Regions from separate parts of the Homo sapiens genome. Here all the other regions are linked to region 2. The links are contacts of gene promoters, found by promoter capture Hi-C in human tissues and cell types (Jung and others, 2019). All regions are on one chromosome and are shown on one strand. The core of a region is centred on a gene start or on the middle of the fragment in contact, and the rest is flanking DNA. Distances in the headings are between cores, read along the strand shown.

Region 1 (4,025 bases), core at 479-2,978, 130 kb before region 2:
AGTGTTGCCCAGGCTGGAGTGCAGTGGCGTGATCTCGGGTCACTACAACCTTCACCTCCCAGCCGCCTGCCTTGGCCTCCCAAAGTGCCAAGATTGCGGCCTCTGCCCAGCCGCCACCCCGTCTAGGAAGTGAGGAGCGTTTCTGCCTGGCCGCCCATCGTCTGGGATGTGAGGAGCCCCTCTGCCTGGCTGCCCAGTCTGGGAAGTGAGGAGCGCCTCTTCCCGGCTGTCATCCCATCTAGGAAGTGAGGAGCATCTCTGCCCGGCCGCCCATCGTCTGGGAAGTGGGGAGCACCTCTGCCCCGCCGCCCCGTCTGAGATGTGAAGAGCACCTCTGCCCGGCCGTGACTCCGTCTGGGAACTTAAGAATGTCTCTGCCCCACTGCCACCCCGTCTGGGAGGTGAGGAGCGTCTCTGACCAGCCGCCCCGTCTGAGAAGTGAGGAGCCCCTCCGCCCAGCAGCCGCCCCGTCCGGGAAGTGAGGAGCCCCTCCGCCCGGCAGCCGCTCCGTCCGGGAGGTGGGGGGCAGCCCCCGCCCGGCCAGCCGCCCCGTCCGGGAGGTGGGGGGCAGCCCCCGCCCGGCCACCCGCCCCGTCCGGGAGGTGGGGGGCAGCCCCCGCCCGGCCAGCCGCCCCGTCCGGGAGGTGGTGGGCAGCCCCCGCCCGGCCACCCGCCCCGTCCGGGAGGTGGGGGGCAGCCCCCGCCCAGCCGCCGCCCCGTCTGGGAGGTTGGGGGGCGCCTCTGCCCGGCCGCCCCATCTGGGAAGTGAGGAGCCCCTCTGCCCGGCCGCCACCCCATCTGGGAGGTGTACCCAATAGCTCATTGAGAACAGTCCATGATGACGGTGGCAGTTTTGTCGAATAGAAAAGGAGGAAATGTGGGAAAAGAAAGAGAGATCAGATTGTTACTGTGTCTGCGTAGAAAGAAGTAGACATAGGACACTCCATTTTGTTCTGTACTAAGAAAAATTCTTCTGCCTTGGGATGCTGTTAATCTATAACCTTACCCCCAACCCCGTGCTCTCTGAAACATGTGCTGTGTCCACTAAGGGTTAAATGGATTAAGGGCGGTGCAAGATGTGCTTTGTTAAACAGATGCTTGAAGGCAGCATACTCGTTAAGAGTCATCACCACTCCCTAATCTCAAGTACCCAGGGACACAAACACTGCAGAACGTGGCAGGGCCCTCTGCCTAGGAAAACCAGAGACCTTTGTTTACATGTTTATCTGCTGACCTTCCCTCCACTATTGTCCTATGACCCTGCCAAATCCCCCTCTCCAAGAAACACCCAAGAATGATCAATAAATACTAAAAAAAAAAAAAAAAAAAAAAAACCAACTTAAAGGGGTAAATGATATCTTAAAAAAAAAAAAAAAAAAGGAATTGGCAGCACCACATTCCCTCTGGAGTAGGCTCTAAATGAGAACTGCTCCGTGCCTCTTCCAGCTTTGGTGGCTGCTGCATTCCTTGGCTTATAGCTTCATCACTCCAATTTTCAAGGCCAGCACCTTCAAATCTTTCTGTTCCATCTTCACAGGGCCTTCTCTCTGTGTGTAAAATCTCCCTCTGCCTCCTTTTTATATATATGTGATTGCATTTAGTGCCTACCCAGATCATCCAAGATAGCCCCCTCATCTCAAGATCCTGAATTTAATCACATCATAAAACAATTTTCCATATAAAGTAATATTTACAGGCTCCAGGGATTAGGACTTGATATCTTTTGGGGAAAGAGGGGAGCATTATTCTGCCCAGCGCAAATACATGTCAATTTCTGCTCTTCCAGCCTTTATGCTATTGTCATACAATTCACTTCTACGTGTTACAAACACTGAAATATATTATTTTTGTTGCGAACAATTTAATTAATCTCTTTTTAATATTAGGTAGGGTCAGAGTAACGAAACTTAGTCTGGGGCTAGGTGGGCAAACCCTTCTGAGTACCCTACCTGCTCTATGAGAGCTGAGGTTTTCCACTCCAACTGGTGTGATTAGAAATTCTTCCTGGCCCTGTGTGACTTTCAGCAACTGTTCCTTCTAATCCTTTCAGGTGGCTCTACCTCCAGCCCTGGGTCATTTCCGCACAAGCAAGTGCTCGTCAGTACTCAGCTACACACATGACAGGGTACTGAGAGGGCAGGGTGCAGGTCTCCGGAGCTCCCTCTGCAGCTCTCTTCCCTGGTATTCTTCCATATGGGCTCTCACCACCTTGCATCTCTGCACTCCCAGCTCTGCCTCCTCAACCCAGCAAACCACTGGCTCAGCCTCAGTCTCCTCTCAGTTTTTCCTCTTGCCATGACCAGGCAGTAATGTAAGGAAATTGTAGGGCTCTCCACATTCATTTTCCTGGGATAACTATTCTTCTTTGCCTGATGCCCAATAACTTGAAAACCACTGTTACATATATTTCTTCCGTTTTCAACTATTTCAAGGCAAGAAGATAAATGCTGTCCTTGTTATTCTATCTTAGCCAGAAGCAAAAATCTTTCATTATTTTTTAACTGAATTTTTTAACACATTGTTAATATATTTTCCAGTCACAAATATAAATATCTATTGGTCAGAAGTGGTGGCTCATGCCTGTAATCTCAGCGCTTTGGGAGGCCAAGGTGGGAGGATCACTTGGGCCCAGGAATTCTAGACCAGCCTGGGCAATACAGCAAGATCTCATCTATAAAACATTTAAAAATTAGCCAGGTATAGTAGCACTGCCTAAAGTCCCCCAGGTACTCAAAAGGCTGAGGCAGAAGGATCACTTAAGCCCAGGAGTTCAGGCTGCAGTGGGCTATGATTGTGCAACTGCATCCTGCCTGGGTGACAGAGTAAGATCCTGTCTCTAAAAAAAATTTTTTTAATAAAAAGTAAACAAAATATAAATATCTATGAATGTTAACTAACATTCTCTTGTATAAATGTATCTGGCCAGGCGCAGTGGCTCACACCTGTAATCCCAACACTGGGAGGCCGAGGGGCGCGGATCATGAGGTCAGGAGTTCGAGACCAGTCTGGCCAACACAGTGAAACCCCATCTCTACTAAAAATACAAAAAATTAGCCGGGTGCGGTGGTGTGAGCCTGTAATCCCAGCTACTCAGGAGGCTGAGGCAGGAGAATCACATGAACCCGGGAAGCAGAGGTTGCAGTGAGCCGAGATCGCACCATTGCACTCTGGCCCAGGCGGACAGTGCAAGACTCCATCTCAATAAACACATAAATAAATATATCTTAAATTTTCAATCCCCTTTTAGTGGTAGGCCATTAAGGTTATTTTTAATTTTCTAATGGGATGAAGGGCACTGCACCAATATCATTACACACTTTCCTAGGGGTAAGCACCCTAGAGGTAAAACTGCTAGGTCAGACATATAATAATCTAAAGCTTTATATTTTCCCAAATTGCCTTCTTAGAAGGTTGTATCACCTCTGACAAAAATCTGAATATTCTTAATGTTTGCCAATTTGACAGGTAAAAAAGGTTCTTATTTTTGTTTCAGTTTCAGTCTACTGATTACTAGTGTCCTAATCAGCTTGAGTTTCTATAACAAAATACCACATACAGACTGGGTGGTTTAAACAATAAGCACTTACTCGTCACAGTTCTGGAGGCTGGGAGTCGGAGAACAAGGTGCCGACAGGTCGACAGTGTTTTTCTTAACGATATTTATAACTGCTCTTTACACAGGCTAGTAACCTTTGATCTATATGCTGTCAATACTTTCCCCAAGTTCAATTTACTTTCAATTTTGTTGAAGGTGGATTTTGACATATTGAACTATATTCCACTCAAAACAGTTTTTTCCTTTATAATGTTAACCTTCCTCAAACTAAGATTACATTTTTTAAAGAAATTATTTCATTTTTTCACATTTAGGTAATTAATCTGAACTTTATGTTTGTTTGCAATATGAGGTAGAGATATAATGTTCTCCCAAAGTCAGAGAAATGTATCATTTCCCTCATTTCCCTAATACATATATGTTACACCCATCATAAATTCATACAGATACACACATACACTCTTCTTTC
Region 2 (4,250 bases), core at 644-3,143:
GGGTCTCCCGCTGAAGGGCTGGACCAACTGATGCTTTTGTGGCGGGATGCAGAGGACTAGAGAGACCAGCATGGGTGAAAACAGGAGGATATTTATGTTAAGGTACGCACCAGCTCAGTGGATTCACATCCAAAAAGCTGAGCCTTGAACAAAGACTAAGCAGGATTTTTATAAGCAAACTTACAGAAGCAAAACAAAGGCAGTTAATCATATAATGACAGGTCACATAATCTATAGCATAACTGATGACTTGGCATAACTTGTGGCCTTGCATAGCTGGTGGCCTTGTAGCTGCGTTGAAAGAAAAAACCAAGAACTGGCTAAACACAGATATTTGTCCTCTTTTTTTTTTTTCTTCACCCCTGCTCTGGAAGGGGGGTGTCTGGAGCCTATTCCTTTGGATTCGACTTCTCAAACAGAACAGCGTTATCTTATAACTGTCCTTAAAGTGAGCTTGCTAAGCAAAAGAAAACTTGTTCTTCTTTTCTTTTTAACCCTTGCCTTGCCACATTCTGGGCCTTGGCTTTTTCTTTTCTTGGAGTGAATGAATGCAGTACTTATTACTATTTTTAAATTTCTGCCTCACTTTAATAATGATAAAAGGCTGAATTTTTGCCAACTTGTCCATCTGTGACCACGTCGTGCTAAAGCACACTTGACACACCATAGAGCCTCAGATCAAACCTCAAAACCAAGCAGCTATGTTAAAAATAACATTGCCCTACAATCATTATCGGAAGGTTCTCGCCCAGAGTAGTTCCCAGGCTGCTATTCTTTGTCCCCCTTAAGACCATAAAGACGCCGTTCTTTTTTGGTGGGACAGGTTGTCCAACACAAGCAGGACACTGCCTGCCGCATCCTGAAGCAACACTGTCACCGAGGTCACACCGAGAGGACAGGACAAGGACACAGGGCAAGACTAAGAAGAGCAAAGCGCAGACTTCTCTCATCTGGGCCAGGAGATGGGGACTGGGACCTGGCCCGGGCAGCCTGACCACACTGCACAGACCCCGGCTCCGGCTCCGTGCAGATCTGGGTTCCCCCAGTGGGAGGTGTCGGGGCTCTCCAGGGAAATCGGGGTTCTCCGGGGATGTCGGGTTCCTTCAGGGGGGCCAGGGTTCCCCGGGATTCGGGGTTCTCTGGGGGGGGGGTCGGGGGCGCCTGCCGCGCACCCACCTTGACGCGCTTTCAGCAGCAGCGAGTTGGCCACGATGTTCTCGAGCTCCATGTCCTGGCGCCGCCGCCGCCGGCGGATTCTGCGAGACCGAGGAGACTGAGGAGGCGGAACAGGAGGAGACGCCGCCGCCCCCGTGCATAGCTCGCCGGGCACCACCCTCTCCTCGAGCTCCGGACACGATCCCGGGAGGCTGCTCCGCCGCCACCACTGCCACCAAGGGCGCCGCCGCCGCCGCCTCCGCAGGCCCTCACCAGCAGGGGAGCGGTCGGGGCGAGGGGAGGGGGCAGCCCGACCGCGGCGGGTCCCAGCTGTCACCGCTGCCGCGCTATCGCCCCGGTTCTTCTTGGCCCCATCGCCCTCGCCTCGCGCGCGCAACTCCCTCCTCAGTGCCCTGCCCCCGGGCAGCCCCGAGTCAATGCCGTGGCTCACTTCGGACAGGGGCTCACTGGCAGGGGCGCCCGCCGCGGCCGGCGACCCGCTCCCGGGCGGGCTCGGCGCTAACGGCTTAGCTGAAGAGGGAGCGCCCCTCGCCGCCGCGGCCGGGGCACTACAGCTCCCAGAAGGCCCTGCGCCAAGAGTACACGGCGGGCCGCGGCGCGTGGCCTGCTGGGAGTTGTAGTCGCTGAGCCTATCGGCGAGTAAGCCGAGCCTGCGGGCGCGGTGTTTACTTCTCGCGAGTCGGAGGTGCTGCGCTGTTCTCGCGAGACGAGGAAGCGGTTCCGCGGCCCGGCACGTGTCTTAGGGTAGCGCGCGCCTGTCTCTCTTCGGGTCTCGGGCCCTTGGGCGCAGCGGGGCGCGCGCCATGGCGAAGGCGAAGAAGGTCGGGGCGCGAAGGAAGGCCTCCGGGGCGCCGGCGGGAGCGCGAGGGGGCCCGGCGAAGGCCAACTCCAATCCGTTCGAGGTGAAAGTTAACAGGCAGAAGTTCCAGATCCTGGGCCGGAAGACGCGCCACGACGTGGGACTGCCCGGGGTGTCTCGCGCACGGGCCCTCAGGAAGGTAAGCGGGGGGCGCACGGGGAGCCGGAAGGCAGGATCTGGACCCCACGCTGCTCTCGGCCGGCTGCGTCCTTCTCGGTGCGTCGGTTTCCTCGTTGAGCGGCACAGGCCGTGACAGGCACACGGCACTGACTTGATAGTCCGAAAGCCTCTGCTGTTCTCTGAGCTGGAGTGACCTGGAAACTCTCGCCGTCTTGGAGACCCTGCACTCGTGTTATTTCGGCGACTCCTCCAACCGGGTCAGGCCGAGTCAGTCACTTCGGGCGGCGCCCTGGACCAAGCTGCTTGTTAACCCTTCCGCGTTTACTTTGAGCTCTGCAGGTTTGGGGACGGTGGATAGGGGCTGTGTAGGATGCTGCGTTTGATGTTTCATCGGCTCTCTCCCGAAGCGCGTAACCTTGTTCCTTGGGAAGTAACTCTATGGAAACTCATTGCTTCCTAGTTTTTTTAACTTTTTTTTTTTTAAATTTTCACTGAGGAACATACATTAGCAGGTTGGTGAAAAAATTAAGGCACAGAAAGGACAAGTGCATTTCCTAAGGTCACGCACCTGGTAAGGGCTGGGCATGCATTCACATTTCAATATCTACAAAGCCTTCTTGCTACCCCGAGCGCTTCTGTTTGACCTCGCTTCTAGGTTCGGGGAGATAAAGGTAAATAAGACTTGCCCTTGCCTTCATGAGCTCCTGATCTCTGTTCATCACAGTGTGCAAGCTGGATGGTCTTTGAATCAAAACACATATTATCCTTACTGCGCGAAGACGACAGCCTGTATAATGAATAGGCAAGATAGACTTACAGCTGACTTCGATAGGAGTCCCTCATTACACACCCCCGGGCCGGGGTGGGAGAATAAGGTAGTGTGGTTCCCTAGAAGAGACACATTTGTCTTCACCACTGAAGCCTCAGTTTTCTCATTTCAAAAGTAGAGATGATAGTATACATCCTACCCCTCGTGGTGGTTTGTGAGAATTAAGTAAGATAGCACATAGAGCACACAGCAAGTGTTCTCTAAATACTGTTATTCTTAACCTTCTTGGCTTGTCGTTCGAGTCCCGCACAGTCTGGCTGTTGTCCTTGCTTCGCCTCTTGCAACTCAGTTTGTCCAAAAGGTCTGCCTTACCTCCGAAAGTCTCTAAAGGGCCAGCTCAGGTTCACCACCCAAGCTATGTAACCCAAATAGGACAGGTTGCTCAAACTTCTGGTATTGAGCAGATCCACCTCCCTGCCCTGTGCTGAAGGCCTGGGACGGGGACGGGAATTGCTGCTCCTTTTTGGATCTCCAATGCTTGGCCCTTGGAAGAAACACAAATATTTGAAGAAATCAAAGATGGAACCTGAGTGCCTTAGGAGATCCCGGTCAGGAAAAAGTGTAATAGTTAGGAAAGTCCAAAAATTCTTCTAGAGGGAGTTACAGTCAAGTTTTGCAAGGGGAGTGAGCTGTTCATGGGCCCAGGGTGGGCAGAGGACACACATGCAAAGGCACATTGTCCCGGTATGGTGAAGTGTGGCACTCACAGCTGTCTGAGGGACAGCAGGTCGTCCAGTTGACTCCAAGCTTGATAACGCGTGTAGGGGCCGTGAGGCCGGCGCAGGAGGCCTGGGTCTTTTCATGTGGGTTAGTCCCTTAGAAGTAAACAGGCTGCCTCAGTTGGCTTCTCCCCTCTGGTCAGTTGTAGCACTCTGAGGCACTCAGTCTGGCAGGAAGAGGGCAGCCCCCAGGTGCCAGTCTCAGGACATTGCTTTATAGCTGTGCCTCAGTTTCCTTATTTCTGAAATAATTTATAAAATAAGTTATATTAATGTAGTTCTTAAATCAGTAACTATATTAATATAGTTACTATATATTAATATACTAACTATATTATTAATATAGTTACTATATATTAATATACTAACAATATTAATATATTAATATATTATTATAATATTAGCATATTAATATATTATTGTAATAGCATATTAATATATTATTATATTAGTATATTAATATATTATTATAATATTAATATATTATTAAAATATTAATATATTATTATAATATTAATATAGTATTAATATAATATTGATGTAGTAT
Region 3 (3,975 bases), core at 1,354-3,853, 250 kb before region 2:
CAACTGCAAAACTGTGTAGAAAAACATGAATTATCTCCAAAGGAAAATCTCACTCACTCGAGGGGGTGTGGTTTCTGGTCTGCTATTAAGCAAAGTGGTCTAGTTGCTCTAGAATCAGGTCTAACACTAATCTCTTAGGGATGTAGGGCCTCAGTTCATTTTAGAAAACCCAGTATTTCTACTAGCGACCTCCACACGTGGTGCCTGAGGAAAGCAGCCTGGCACCAGAACCACAGTGGGCACCAGAACCACAGCAGGCAGCCTCTGGGCTGCGGGGATTCTGTCCCGCCCTCTCACGTGTGCCCAGCCCAGGGCCTACCGGTGCCTTTCACCGTACTTGGTCTTCTGCAAGGAACGAGCAGACTCACCAGTGGGGGCACACGTGTGTAGCTGTTGACAAGGGGCAGGCGGGCCAGGCTGATGATGATGTTCCTTAGCAATGGCGTGAGAAACGCCGGCACGCCGCTATTCCTTTTATGACCCAAGGCCAACACCGACTGCAGAGACTCCACCATTTCTGCCACCATCTCACAGGCTGCAGTGATATACTTAGGATCTAAACAAGCAACGGTTAAGAGAGGACTTTTTAAAAAACACATCCTATATGCCCAGTGTAGAAAGCATGACCTACAACCAGCTGCTCAAGCTGTAACTGTGGAATCCACTTAGACTCTGAGTTGGCCACTGAAGGCCTGCAGATTCTACCTTCATATCCGCCTATACCATACAATTCTCCCCATTTTCTGCTGGGATTGCTGGAATGGTCCTGAACCTGAGCTCTGGCCTTGGTTCCCAGCCCTCTGGCCCACTCTCTGTGATAAGGCCAGCAGCAGCCTGTGACAGCTGGAAGCCATCCTGTGGCTCCTCAGCCTCAGACTTCCTTTAGGACACCTCCTCTGCCCCTCGTCTTTCTCTGGTCTCCCAGGACCTGTGTCTGTCCCTCAGCTAGTATCAAAGGGCCATGTTGTCATCCTTGCTTCACTGGCTTTCCTAGGTCAGAGTGCTTGAGGGGCTTGGGGCATGGTTCTGGTGGGCATGGAAACTCCCAAGGCAGACGCTGTGGACACTTCACACCCTTGGGAAGATCCACAGAATGGTGTCTTGAGTCTAGAATATCATACCTACTAAAATATGATTTGTTGAGGCAGTGAGTGTGTATTACGTGGCTATTACCCACAGGCCACGAGATTCTACAGTTTGGGCAACTTCCTAGGATAGAGAAGGACTTCTCATTGGACTTAAGCAATTAAGCCCCACGCTAACGAGTTGGCTTTATTAATATTTTTTTTTTTTTTTGAGACGGAGTCTTGCTCTGTCGCCCAGGCTGGAGTGCAGTGGCGGGATCTCGGCTCACTGCAAGCTCCGCCTCCCGGGTTCACGCCATTCTCCTGCCTCAGCCTCCCAAGTAGCTGGGACTACAGGCGCCCGCCACTACGCCCGGCTAATTTTTTGTATTTTTAGTAGAGACGGGGTTTCACCGTTTTAGCTGGGATGGTCTCGATCTCCTGACCTCGTGATCCGCCCGCCTCGGCCTCCCAAAGTGCTGGGATTACAGGCGTGAGCCACCGCGCCCGGCCTATTAATATTTATTGGATGACCTTTAAGAAGTAACGTCCTATCGAGGTGATTAAAAAAACAAAGAAAGCTTCCCACTCTTGCCTAAAGAGGGCCATGGGGAATAAGCATAATCATCTTCACCCAAACAGAACCCACTTCAGGGCCCGTTGCTCTAACTCAAACCGCCAAGATGTCTCAACTGTTTTAAAGCAATGGAAATCTAACTAAAAATCATGATAGCATTTGTTGAGTATTCATAACAAGACTGTCATCCGTTCCAGGTGCTTTACATGGAGGGATTAACTGATTGATTTCAATCCACACGGTTGGCACTATTCTTATCCTCACCACAGAAGCACAGGATCCACAGCCTGAGGTGCCACTCGGCTGGAAGATGCAGAGTAGGGAGGTGGGTGTTTTCATATTCCTTAGGTAGCAACAAGAAATCATGAAATCACAAACTGAAGCCTGAAGGACCCACAGAGGTTTGAGATACAAATTCAGAGAAGTCCTTGGCTGTGCATTAAAATGCCATTGCTTCTGGGTCATTCTCTAATTACAAAACCTTGAACCGGGAACCAGAAGAGAAAAGTACTATGCAGAAGACTAAAGACAGGAAAACTCCATCCACAACCAGGATTGCACAAAAGCGGGGAGAAAAAGCCCAAAAGCACTGGTGCACTCATGATTGAAAAGGCGTGTTTCCTGAGCCACAGAGCATGGAAAAGATGCCTGATGCTCCAGGTAAGCGTGCTGTGTAAAATGTGTGGACAGGCTCCAGGTGAGGCACCCCCACCTCTGTGGGACAGGCAACAGGGGCCATTCCCCACCAGACACTGGGCTAAAGAAGCTGAAGCACCCCAGCAGCCTAGGGGCCCTGGCAAGAACAAAAGACACTTGGCCAAAGAATCTTCCTCCCAACAGGCACTGCCACCATTTTCCTAGTAAAATACCTACTCTAGAATTGGGAGGAAAGTGCATGAAAAGCCGTAGTATATGTCTAAGTCTATAACTGGCTTAAATCACTGGGATTTGGATTTTTTTTTTTTTCTGTAGGAAAAGCGGAATTTTCTTTTAAATATCCACCAAAACAGATGGCTGAACCTGACACTGAGGTTACTGAATACTCATGTGGGAAACATTTATTTATTCATTATCACTCAACAAAAGGTTGTTGCTTGCTGACCAGAGGCCGAGCATTAATTTCTGAGAACACAAAGAAGACAAACCTGTTCCCTGCCCTCAAGGATCTCAGAATAACTGCAGAGTGTGGGAAGTGCGGGGGGAAGGGAGCGCTCCCCCAGTGGCATCCCAGCTGGTCTGTAGGGTCAGAGACAGCCGCATGTGTACGGATAAGGTGTTCACTCGGAAACAAAAGAGCTGGCAAAGCAATGGACTACAGCCTCCCTGACAGCTAGGGAGGAGCAGCAGGACACAGCGGAGCTACGGTGCGCTTCCAGGAGTCCACACTCACCGCGGTGCACGTCTCTGTGAATGATTTTTAAGTCCTGGAGGAACAACATGTAAGAAAAAAATGGGTCCTGAGACTTACTCTGTGTGTTTGGATCTACTTCCTCCTCCTCCTCGCTGATGGCTTTTGGGGTATTTGTCCTTCTTTCTGGACTAAGAAGCTGCTCTCCAGGCTGCACTGCAACTAAAATTACAACAGAACAAAGAGAAGAATTTCTACACACTTCCATCAGTGCTTTTTATTCAACATTTTACATTTGTGCAGCCTCACAAAAGTTGAAAGGGATAGACAGACTAGCCTAGATTCCTTAGAACCAATTTTAGACAAACAGACAATACTAGACTGAGGTACCAATCTCTTGGTTAGTGGTATATGTCTGAAGATTTGAACTTCAGATTTCATTCAGATTTCTAAGTCCCTCGACTGTCTCCTGTTGGCCATCTCTCACCCTGAGGTTATTATGAGACGGCTCAAGATACTATCAAAATCATCACTATAACCTCCAAGAAGTCTGGCTTTTAAGTAGTAATCCCTGGATCTTTGTTTTCAAGTTGGCTACAAATGCACAGATGAAAACAATTATGAAACATGAAAACATCACTCTATAACATTTAATTTAAAAATACAAAGCTTCAAAACGCCCTCTAACATGTAAACTATGACGTCCAATTTTTTAAAAATTGTGGCTAATGACCCTTGTTGAGGATACTGTTCCTTGAAAAGAACAAGCCACTTTTATTTTACAGTACGTTAATATTACAATGCAGTATAAAAACAAACATTTTAACTCTGACAGAAAACAAATAATCTTCTGAATGTAATGTTATTAATCTTATGATCATATAAGACTAAATACATAAAACAGCTAAGACCAAAGATCACAGAGACATAAAGTTTAGAGGTATTTTTGATGAAAGCTGAAACTTCAAAATCTAAATAAAATGACT

The links. Contacts are between HindIII fragments. The study calls those that stand out against the background at their distance.
Region 1: a fragment that was not itself captured here is called in contact with the fragment with the promoter of NOP14 in region 2 in 3 of the 25 tissues and cell types used here (aorta, lymphoblastoid cells and mesendoderm cells).
Region 3: a fragment that was not itself captured here is called in contact with the fragment with the promoter of NOP14 in region 2 in 2 of the 25 tissues and cell types used here (H1 embryonic stem cells and lymphoblastoid cells).

Annotation. Positions count from the first base shown.
Region 1 is chr4:3,091,215-3,095,239 of GRCh38, reverse strand. The region is part of intron 2 of HTT (huntingtin); the gene reads right to left. Among named protein-coding and RNA genes, the nearest start is that of HTT, 19 kb to the right of the region's middle. The HindIII fragment of the contact is 5,503 bases long and covers 1-4,025 here.
Region 2 is chr4:2,961,049-2,965,298 of GRCh38, reverse strand. NOP14 (NOP14 nucleolar protein) reads left to right here and starts at 1,893. Exons shown (of 18, transcript NM_001291978.2): 1 at 1,893-2,174. The coding sequence starts at 1,980. GRK4 (G protein-coupled receptor kinase 4) reads right to left here and starts at 1,728. Exons shown (of 16, transcript NM_182982.3): 1 at 1,177-1,728. The coding sequence starts at 1,228. RefSeq lists silencers at 1,056-1,105, 1,276-1,705 and enhancers at 1,168-1,701, 1,702-2,235, 3,266-3,335. The HindIII fragment of the contact is 12,457 bases long and covers 1-4,250 here.
Region 3 is chr4:3,214,346-3,218,320 of GRCh38, reverse strand. HTT (huntingtin) reads right to left here. Exons shown (of 67, transcript NM_001388492.1): 51 at 3,110-3,211; 52 at 369-556. Among named protein-coding and RNA genes, the nearest start is that of MSANTD1, 33 kb to the left of the region's middle. RefSeq lists an enhancer at 3,869-3,975. The HindIII fragment of the contact is 5,430 bases long and covers 1-3,975 here.